Linked DNA regions of Homo sapiens: region 2 is linked to region 1. Evidence: promoter capture Hi-C in human tissues and cell types (Jung and others, 2019). All regions are on one chromosome and are shown on one strand. The core of a region is centred on a gene start or on the middle of the fragment in contact, and the rest is flanking DNA. Distances in the headings are between cores, read along the strand shown.

Evidence for each region. Contacts are between HindIII fragments. The study calls those that stand out against the background at their distance.
Region 2: a contact is called between a fragment that was not itself captured here and the fragment with the promoter of ANGPT4 in region 1, in 1 of the 25 tissues and cell types used here (lymphoblastoid cells).

Annotation. Positions count from the first base shown.
Region 1 is chr20:914,116-918,821 of GRCh38, forward strand. It overlaps ANGPT4 (angiopoietin 4), which reads right to left and starts at 2,219. Exons shown (of 9, transcript NM_015985.4): 1 at 1,791-2,219. The coding sequence starts at 2,099. It overlaps LOC105372492 (a long non-coding RNA gene), which reads left to right. Exons shown (of 3, transcript XR_937185.3): 2 at 3,211-3,306. The HindIII fragment of the contact is 12,950 bases long and covers 1-4,706 here.
Region 2 is chr20:961,928-966,633 of GRCh38, forward strand. RSPO4 (R-spondin 4) reads right to left here. Exons shown (of 5, transcript NM_001029871.4): 4 at 2,008-2,193. Among named protein-coding and RNA genes, the nearest start is that of RSPO4, 38 kb to the right of the region's middle. The HindIII fragment of the contact is 9,060 bases long and covers 1-4,706 here.

The DNA of each region.
Region 1 (4,706 bases), core at 969-3,468:
CATTTATTGAGTACCTACTGTGTGTTCGGCACTATTCTAGGCCCTGGGAACCCAGAAGTGAGCAAAAGAGACATGGCGCCTGCCCTCTGGGAGCTCACACACCAAAAGAAATGTTTTTAAGAACATTAGGTAGGGATAAGTTCTAAGAAAAAAAAACACAACAAAGCCAGCAGAGGGACAAAGGGTGGAAGAGGAAGGTGGTTATTTCGTACGGGGAGGACAAGGAGGGCCTCTGGGGAGATGGCGCTGGAGAGGATAGGAGGCTGGGGTAAGCAAAGTGGGAGTCTGGGAGAGGGAACTCCAGGGAGTAAGGGTTCTTGCTTTTATTCGGATGCATGGTTAGCCCTGGGAGGAGGGAGAGGATGTAACTTAGGTTTTGATGGGGATTCTTTGGTCTGCTGCATGGAGAACAGGAGGTGGGGGCCGAGTGTTAGCAGGGAGCCAGGGGGGCAGCCAGGACAGCTATCCTGCCTGGAGCCAGAGGTGGTTGTCAAGCTTGTCTGCTGTTTAATACCTTCTAAAACTCCAGGAATTAGTTCGCATCCTTCATTCCTCAGTCATCGCCCAGACTGTCTCCTGGGTCCCTCTCCCTTTCCTTGGTAGCTCTCACTTAGGGACTCTGAAGAGTCCCATCTCAGACCCCCCAGGATGTCTCCTGTACCCTCATGCCCCGCCAGGGCCAAGCCTGCTTTGCACACCTCTGTAGTCAGTGCTTCTCCGAGGGTACACAATAGGTGCTCACACTGCTGAAAGACGAAAGCATGACAGGGCATTCTACAGCAGCCCTGGTCTTGGGCCAAAACCACAGTGGCATCCTCAGCTCCTTGCTTCCTCCCACTCCGCATCCAATTCACCAGCAGAGCTGATGGGCTCTACCTCCAGAACCCACCAGAATCTTACTGGCCACACCCCCTCCTAGCCCCGTTCTGCTCCAGGCCTCCGGTACCTTGCACCTGATGGCTGCAGCGGCCACCTCTTTGGGCTTCTTCCTTCCACCCTGCCTCCTACAGTCTATGCTGTTGAAATCGAATCACGGGTGTCTGTCTCTGCTCACAACCTTGCAGTGGCTCCCATGACACTCAGAACAAAAGCTGAAGTCCTTCCAGTGGCCCCCCCCCCAGCTGCATGGCCTGCCCTGCTGTCACCTCTCAGACCTCCCCGCACCCTTGCTCCCTCTCCTCTGCTCCAGCTACACAGGCCTTCGCCCCATGGTTCTCCAGGCACACACCGCTGCGGATGCATTCCCTCCTCACGGTCAAAATACATGCAGCTCCCTTTGCAGAACGTTCCCTCAAATACCTGCCTGGCCCACTCTATCATTTCCCTTGTTCTCTGGGTTCAAATGTCACCTCCTCTGAGAAGTACTCTCTAATGATCTGACCTCAAGCAGCCACCCAGGGCCGCCACTTGCCCTCTTTCTTCTTCATTTTGCTTCACCATCTGACATAGTAGATTATCTCTTACTGCCTCTTTCCCCTACTAGTCCAGAGGGAGACATACTATACTGTCGTATCCCCAGCACCCAGGAAGGCTTGGTCCGTTCAGCCCTTGGTCAGGGCTGAATGGATTTCTGTTGGATGAATGAAGGGACGGCAGTTAAAGAGCCAGGTTGCCAGCTGACATTGCCCAATCTTGCTGTGTGGCCTCAGACCCACCCCTGCCCCTCTTTGTGCAGCTCAGAGACAGCCCTCTGTGCTCAGGGAAGGCCTCTTGGATGGACACTCCACCTGCTGATTGTGACAGACCCCAAAGCCGCCCTCTGCCCCCTGCAAACCTCCCATGCCCCGTACCTTCTTCAGCCACTGCGTGTTGTTCTGCAGTGCCTGCTCCAGCTGTTTCACCTGCTGGGTGGGCAACTTCCCCAGGTGCAGTGGGTTGGCCAGTGATTCTCTCTGGAGGGTGTTGGAGTCCCTGGAGACCTCAGGCCCCGGAGGGCAGGGCTCAGACTTGGGCAGCAAGAAGGTGTAGCTACAGTGGCCGTGCTGGACTACAAGTGTCTCGCAGCCCCTATCCGCCTCCTGCCTTGTCTGTTGAGCCACAGACATGGTGGCAACCACAAGGAGGAGGCTGCCCTGCAGCATGGCTAGCTGGGAGAGCATCTGAAGATGTGTCAATGGCGAGGGATGTCTGCTCAGAGCCCTAGGGGCTGTGCCTGGGATGTCCTGCTGCAGCCAACAGTGGCCAGGCTTGCCTGCAGCTGCAGCTACAAACCTCTGTCTGGCCGAGCTCTGTCCAGGCAGCTATTTATACTTGCTCTGAATACCACGGCTGCTCTGCTTGCTTCCTCTCACCGCCTCCCTCCGGCCCCACCCGACACCCTCTCACCTCTATTCTTCACTCCTTCCCTTCCTCCTTCCTCAGTCTTGGTGGCACGTCGCCCTTACCCTAAGCGTGCACCAACCTTGCTCTGTCTGCCTCACCTCTGAGCCCTCTGATTATCCAGTGAGGCCTGGCTTCCCTGCTGGAGGGGAGGGAAGAAAACAGCACACAGACACGCGCACACACTCATGCACACACTCACGAGCACACACTCACACGCACGCTGACACGCACACACATTCATGTACACACAAACGCCAAGCTCCAATGCTGCCCGCTTTGGAAAACCAAATGCAACTTAACTCTCCCTTCCTGTCTCTGTCTTGGTCTCCCTCTTTCCCTCCACCCCCATCCCCTGCCCCCCAAGTCTAAGATCTCAAGTTTCAGTCCCGCTGCCATCCCCTTCTCTCCCCGCTGCACCTTCCTCCCTCTGGTTCCATGTTAGCGCTTGGAGTACAAGTGACCCCCGGAGAGAGCAGAGGGAGGGGAGGAGGCAGAGGGGTGAGGCTGGGGAGGGCCCAGCGAATCCACTTTGCCTCTGGAGACACAGAAAATCCTTCCAAGGTGGGGCAAGTGAGCAACCCAGCTGGGAGTTGCTTCCTGTCCTCTCTTCTCCCTCAGGGCCAGGGGAAAGTGGTATGCCCCAGGATGGCCCTGGCTTGGTTGCTTGTAACAGTAATGAGAAGTTGTCATGTCCTGGGGCAGATTGTCCTGGGGCTGCTGGAGTGGGGATGTGGAGAGGAGGCAGTGGGGAGAGGAGGTTGGAGTGCCAGGAGGCTAACCCTAGATCTCGCTCCCCGACAGCTGGCCACGAGACCTAGGGTGGGCAGCTGTGCCTCTCTGGGCCTCCACACCCTGATCTGTAAACTGGGTAAACCTTATCTCTTGCAGGAGGAATGCGTGTGAGTCCTCAGCATGGGGATGGAGAAGTTTTCAGCTTCTGGGTTCAAATCCTGGCTCTACCATCTACCAGCTGTATGACTTTGAGTAAGTCACTTAACCTCTCTGTGCCTTCATTTCCTCCTGAATGAGGAAAATAATACCACCTACTTCACATGGCATGAAAATTAGGTGAGTTAGAGCAAGGTTGGCACAGAGCGAGCACTAAATAAATATTTTCCGTTGTCAATGTTATAGTTGTCATTGCACCTCCCCTCCCACGACCCACTGGAGCATAAACTCCTCTAGGGCAGGGATTTGTCCCTGGGGGACATGGTCTCCAGGCAGAAGGTGCCCAGGAGTTGGTGGGGCCTTTCCTGCATGGGCTGCCTTTATGTTCTGCCAGCTGTTTGGGCTTTTCCTCTCTCCCTGCTTGTTTCCTCAGAGTAGGGGCCAGTCTGGCTGTTTAGTATTTTCCTTTTTGTTCTCTCAAATCCCGATAGAGTTTTGAATTGGGGCAGGCTGCTTCTGGGCAGCTGTGAACTGTGGTCTCATCTGGGGACTGAGAACATTATACCAGGTGTGGGGCTTTTGCAGGCAAAGGAAAAGCAGCTGGTTATCAGCCTCCAGCCTCCCCTGAGCCTTCCCACATGCTCTGAGCTCTGCGTGCCCCGCTTGGCCCCAGTTGCCTCAGCTGTAAATGGGGTCATAGCACCCTGACCATGTGAGAGTAATGTGGACTGATAGCTTATCACAGCTCTGGGTGCAGAGAAGGGCAGTGTGAATGGTGGTCGTCATTATGATTGTCTTGACTGAGCTGCTTGATAATCCCAACGAGGCAGTTACACCAGGCCCCAAGCTTAGATGGGCCCCATGCTTGGTTTACACTCTGCCAGCACTGTCTTGAAATTCTTAATACATTTGGAACAAAGTACTCAGCACTTGCATTCTTCATTGAGTTCCACAAATTAGGTAGCAGGCCCTGCCTGGGAAACATGAGGCTTCCCTCATCCCTCACTCTGCTCCTGACCTTACCATCCAATCAGACCTGTTCTTCCAACATGATCCTTTAGATATTTCCCCCTCTGTCACCTCTTCACTACTCAGAATGCTGGAGCCAGCACATCTGGATCGGAATCTTGGCTTTCCTGACCCCCTATTTGTGTGCCTTTTGCCAAGTTGCCTAACCTGTCTCTCAGTTTCCTCTTCTGTCAAAATAGTGATGTTACAGTGGCTAAAAGACCGATTCCTGCAGTGAGGTTAACACAGAGCCTTTCACATAATACATGCTCAACCAGTGACAGCTGTCATCATTACTCCCTGCTATGATATGAATGTTTGTGTGCCCCCAAATTGATCTATTGAAACTTAGTCAACAAGGTGATGGTATTAGAAGGTGGGGCCTTTGGGAGTGAATAGCTCGTGAGGACTCTGCCTTGGGAATGAGATTAACGCTCCTATCAAACATGTCCTAGACAGCTGGCCTTCCCTTTTGCTAGGTGACGTTG
Region 2 (4,706 bases), core at 1,036-3,535, 48 kb after region 1:
CCACCCACCTAATCATCCACCTACCTACTCATCCACCCACCTACCCTCCCATCTACCCTCCTATCCACCCATCTACCTACCCACTCACCCACCTGTGCATTCAGCCATCCATCCACTCATCCAACAAATATTAACTGGATACCGACTATGTGCCAGACTGTGTTAGAGGCACTAGAGAGACAGCTGTGAACAAGGCAGATAAAGCCCTTGCCGTCACTGGAGATCACACTCCAGTAAGGAAAACAGACGCTGAACAAGCAAACACGAGAATGAGAAGGCTCATTTCAGAAGGGTGCAAGTGCTACCATGTGATATGATGGAAAATGACTCCGGGGAGGGGGACTCCTGGGAAGCCTCTCTGAGGAGGAGCCACTGCAGCCAAGACCTGGGTGATGCAGGGAGCTACAGCGGGGTTGTTGCGAGGATTAGAGTCATGTTTCACAGCACTAAGCACAGCCAGCACATGGTAGATGCTTTATGAATGTTTGCAGTTATTGTGATTATTATTATCCAGGGGAAAAGCTTTCCCCTCATGATTCCCCAACAGCCATTCACCCCCAGCTCTTGGAGCCATGAGAGGTGCCATGTGGTAATGAGTGCAGAAGAACTGTCTGCCTCCTGTGTGAGTCCTGCTCTGGCTCTGGGGTCTCTTAGGTTCTCTGGTTCCACCTCAACCTCACTCTGTCCTCACCTGCCCAACATGACTCCCAAAGGCTCCTATCTCTGCTAGCTGCACTCCCAACCCAAATAGCACAAGTCCTTCTGAAAGAGGAGTGTCCCTGAGTTCAAATCCTGGCTCCACTATGTCCCAGCTGGGTGCCCCGGGTGGCCTGGTTCCAGGTCCCTCATCCTTCATCATGACTTTAGATTCCTCTTTGCATGACGAGTTACGTTTGAATTCTAGGTCTACAGCTCCCTGGCTTTGTGACCCTTAGGTGAGTGACTCAACCTTTCTGGGCCTCAGTCCCCTCATCTGTAAAATGGGGATAGTGCTAATAACACCTACCGCATAGCATCACTGCGAAGATTACATGAGTTAACGATTATAGAGAATTCGGCACAGTGCCCAGTCAACACTGCCAATACTACTCACCGTTCACATCTTACCAAGCACACCCTGTGGCCTCTCTTCTATGTAAATCAGTGGTCCTTCATAGCCCCCAGAAACATTTTGGAAATACGTGTAGTGGTCTTGAATGGCACAGTGAAGGGGGTTCCTGTGGCATTCAGTGGACGGCAATCGGGATCCAGCGTGGGACAGTCCCCCGCAAAGACGAGCTGTCCCCCTGTTCCATCCAGTTCTCTCACATCGTGCCCCACCCTCACGTAGCTGAAAAGTCTGCTTGCTGGGAGCTGAATTCTGTTTGACTCATGAATACCAATTGGTTTCGAACACTTCCATTCACTGAAGATTCTAGGGCACTGTGAGTGTGGTGTCAATCAGAGATCAATTGGGTTGGACCTTACTAATCATTGGTCACTGTTGGGAAATCGCATCTCTGATGGCGATGTGGCCACGTACTTGGGGCGCTGACCACGGCCGCGGTCCTCACTGGGATTGTACTTCCCTAAGTGTCTGTTGGTATGTTGGGCCAAGCGCTTCCATCAAGAAATTTCTTTTCTTTCTCCTCTATATTACAGTTAGGACACTATACTGATAAAAAAAAATTACCTTTGCAAGTAGGCCACATTCTCCATGAACTTCATTAAGAATGATAAAGAGGGTATTCCCAAATCCTTCTTATTAAAAGGGGGGTGTTCAGTTTGAGAGGGTTGGGAACTCCTGGCCAGCTCAATTTTCCTAATGTATTTGGGACTGAACCCAGCAAGGAAGGCCCTCCTTTGAAAGGACACCAGGGAAGGTGATGTGTACTCCACATGATAGTATGGCTAATGGTGGCCTTTCAGGCAGTCTCATAGATACTATTTGTGGGGCAGTGATCTGAGTCCGCCCTGTCCCTGTGGGCCTTTCCCACCGCAGCCTCGTGTGCCTGTCCTGGGGCTCACCTCCTGGGCAGGGCCTCTGGATGGGACATTTCCTTGACTCAGAAAGCACCTGGCAGGTGGCTGCCTCCTCATGCCCAGCCCGGCCAGCCTCTCGTACCCGGCTCTCCAGGCCCCAAGCCGAGCCGCAGGTCTTTCCATTGTGTGTGCAGGGGCTCCAGCCGCCCCAGGGACCCAGTTCACACTCCCCTGTGGGGTGAAAGGAGAGACAGACAGACAGACAGACAGGGTCAGCCGGCAGTGAGGGTCCTTCAGATCCAAGGGCAGGGTTTGAGGGGTTCAGTCCTCTGAAGACTGAAGACACCACTTCCACCTGCTAGGAGCAGAGTTATTTATAAGAGCCTGGAATGAGAGCGAAACGAATGCATGCACAGACTAATATGGGCCTGAAGCCAGAGCGGCCGACTGTCTAGCTTTAAAGGAAAGGCTTCCTGGAGGAGGTGATGTATGAGTTAAAGGGAGAGAGGGGAGCTCGTCAGGTGAGAAGAAGGAAGCCCATTCCAGGCAGGTGTGCAAAGCCTTGGGAGCCCGGCCCACCATGTTTGGGAGATGGGGCAGCCTGAGTTGGGAGTCAAGTCTCAGGAAGGCGGGGACAGGAGAGGAGGCTGGAAGGTTGCCTGGGAAGCCCTCAGGACCAGGACACAGGTTTTAAACTTGATCATGTGTCTTTGATCAACTTTGGAAGGAAGAAAAAGGAGGCCATGGACATAAAAGTTCTTCATAGGGGGTAATAAAAATACATATATACATGTATATATATATATACACACACACACACATATATATATACACATATATATACACACACACACATATATATACACATATATATACACACACACACACATATATATATACACATATATACACACATACACACACACACACACACACACACACATATATATATATATATACTTTGATTATTTTAAAAGTCCATGAGAAGTAGGCACAGAATATGGGTAGCTATGAATACTCCTATTTTGTAGATTTGGACACTGAGACCTAGAGCAGAGGTTTGCTAAGGGAACGCAGCAAGAGGCTCACACAGCAGACACAGCAAGCTCAAGACACAGTGGGACCCAGACCTTGCTAGATACACACATTTGACAAGTAAAGACTGAGCACCCAGTGTATGCCAGGTGCTATTCTGGGTGCTGAGGGAGCAGCAGCAGACAAGACAGCCCAGGGTCTGCAGGCCTCCTGGAATTCACCATCTGGACACCGCCGTGATGAGGGAAGTGCAGGCACCGTGGGAGCCCAGAAGCAGCATGGGTTGGGTTGTAGGGGAGGAAACCCCTGGACTGGGTCTTGAAGTGGGGGTGGGATGGCGGGGAAGGGGAGCCTAGCCAGGCTCAGGGAGGGACGGGAGGTGCTCCAAGTGAGGGCATAACCCCAGCAGAGTCCCCAGGATGATTTGGCCTGGAACTGGGCAAGCCGGAGAATAAGCTCAAACTGAGGAGGAAAAAAATGATGGGGGTGGAAAGGCTGGCAGATGGGACAGATTGCCCAGGGCCTGGGTGGGCTCCGCCCAAGGGCAGTGGGAGCCACTGAAGGGTCCTGGGAGGAAAAGAAATTGAGCAGACTATCATTGTGAAATACTCCCTCTGCTGTTGAGTGGAGACTGGGCTGGAGGGACTGAGAACCAAGGCGGGAGACGGGCAGGAGCTGTGGCCAGAACCCTGGCGATAGGCAGGGGGTGGCAAGAGGGTGGGAAGAGGGCGGCACAGAGGACAGAAACAAATGGGTGGGGAGAAAGGGATGAGCTGAATGGTGTGGGTTTGGGAGCTTCGTGCTGCTTCATTTTCACCCCAAAGTTCTTCCTACCACCCAAAATATTATGCATTTGTTCTCAGGTGTCGCTTCTGTCTCTCCACTGAAATGTCATGTCCTTGAGTGCAGAGGCTTTGTCTGTTTTGTTCTGTAATGTGTCTCCAGCACCTAGGAAAGTGCCTGGCCATAGCAGATGCTCTAGTAGATATTTTCAGAGTGAATAAATGAACAGATTGGATTGAATATAGGGTGAGGGAGAGAGAAGAGTCAACAGCGATGTCTGCATCTCGCGCATGCCACCCAGGGATCAGGGAGCTGGTTATTGAAACCCAGAGGAAACCCAGAGGGAGCGTTAGGTGGGGGATGGTGGCAGTGGGAGTGGAAAGAAGGCACCCAGAGGGCAGTGGAGGTGAGGATCAGCTGCTCAGGGAGGCTGGAGACACGGAGTCAGGGGCCATCAGCAGCTGGAATGACCATGAATGTGAGCCCGGAGGGAATGCGTGGGCAGAGAGGCACAGTGTAGATGAGAATGCCAAGGAGCAGCCTAGTGCAGGAACGGGAGGGCTCACAGGCAGGAGTGTGACAAGGAGCTGTTAGGAAATAATCAGAGCAGTAATAACACTGATACTGACACGTACTGAGCATCTACTGTGTGCTGGCTGCTGTACTGAGCACTTTAAATTGTACTAATTCACTTTATCCTCATAACAATTCCTCCCCATGAGGTAGGCTCTATGTTCTATTGTCTTTTTTTTTTTCTAACGTTTGGAGAAACCGAAGGACAGAGAGCTGAGGTGGTTTGCTTAAGATCACTAAAGGGTAAGGTTTAGAGCTAGGATTGGACCCCAGGCCTGTCCTATTCCAAAATCAGTGCTCAGCCAGGTGTGGTGGCTCATACCTATACTCCCAATGCTTTGGGAGGCTGAGGT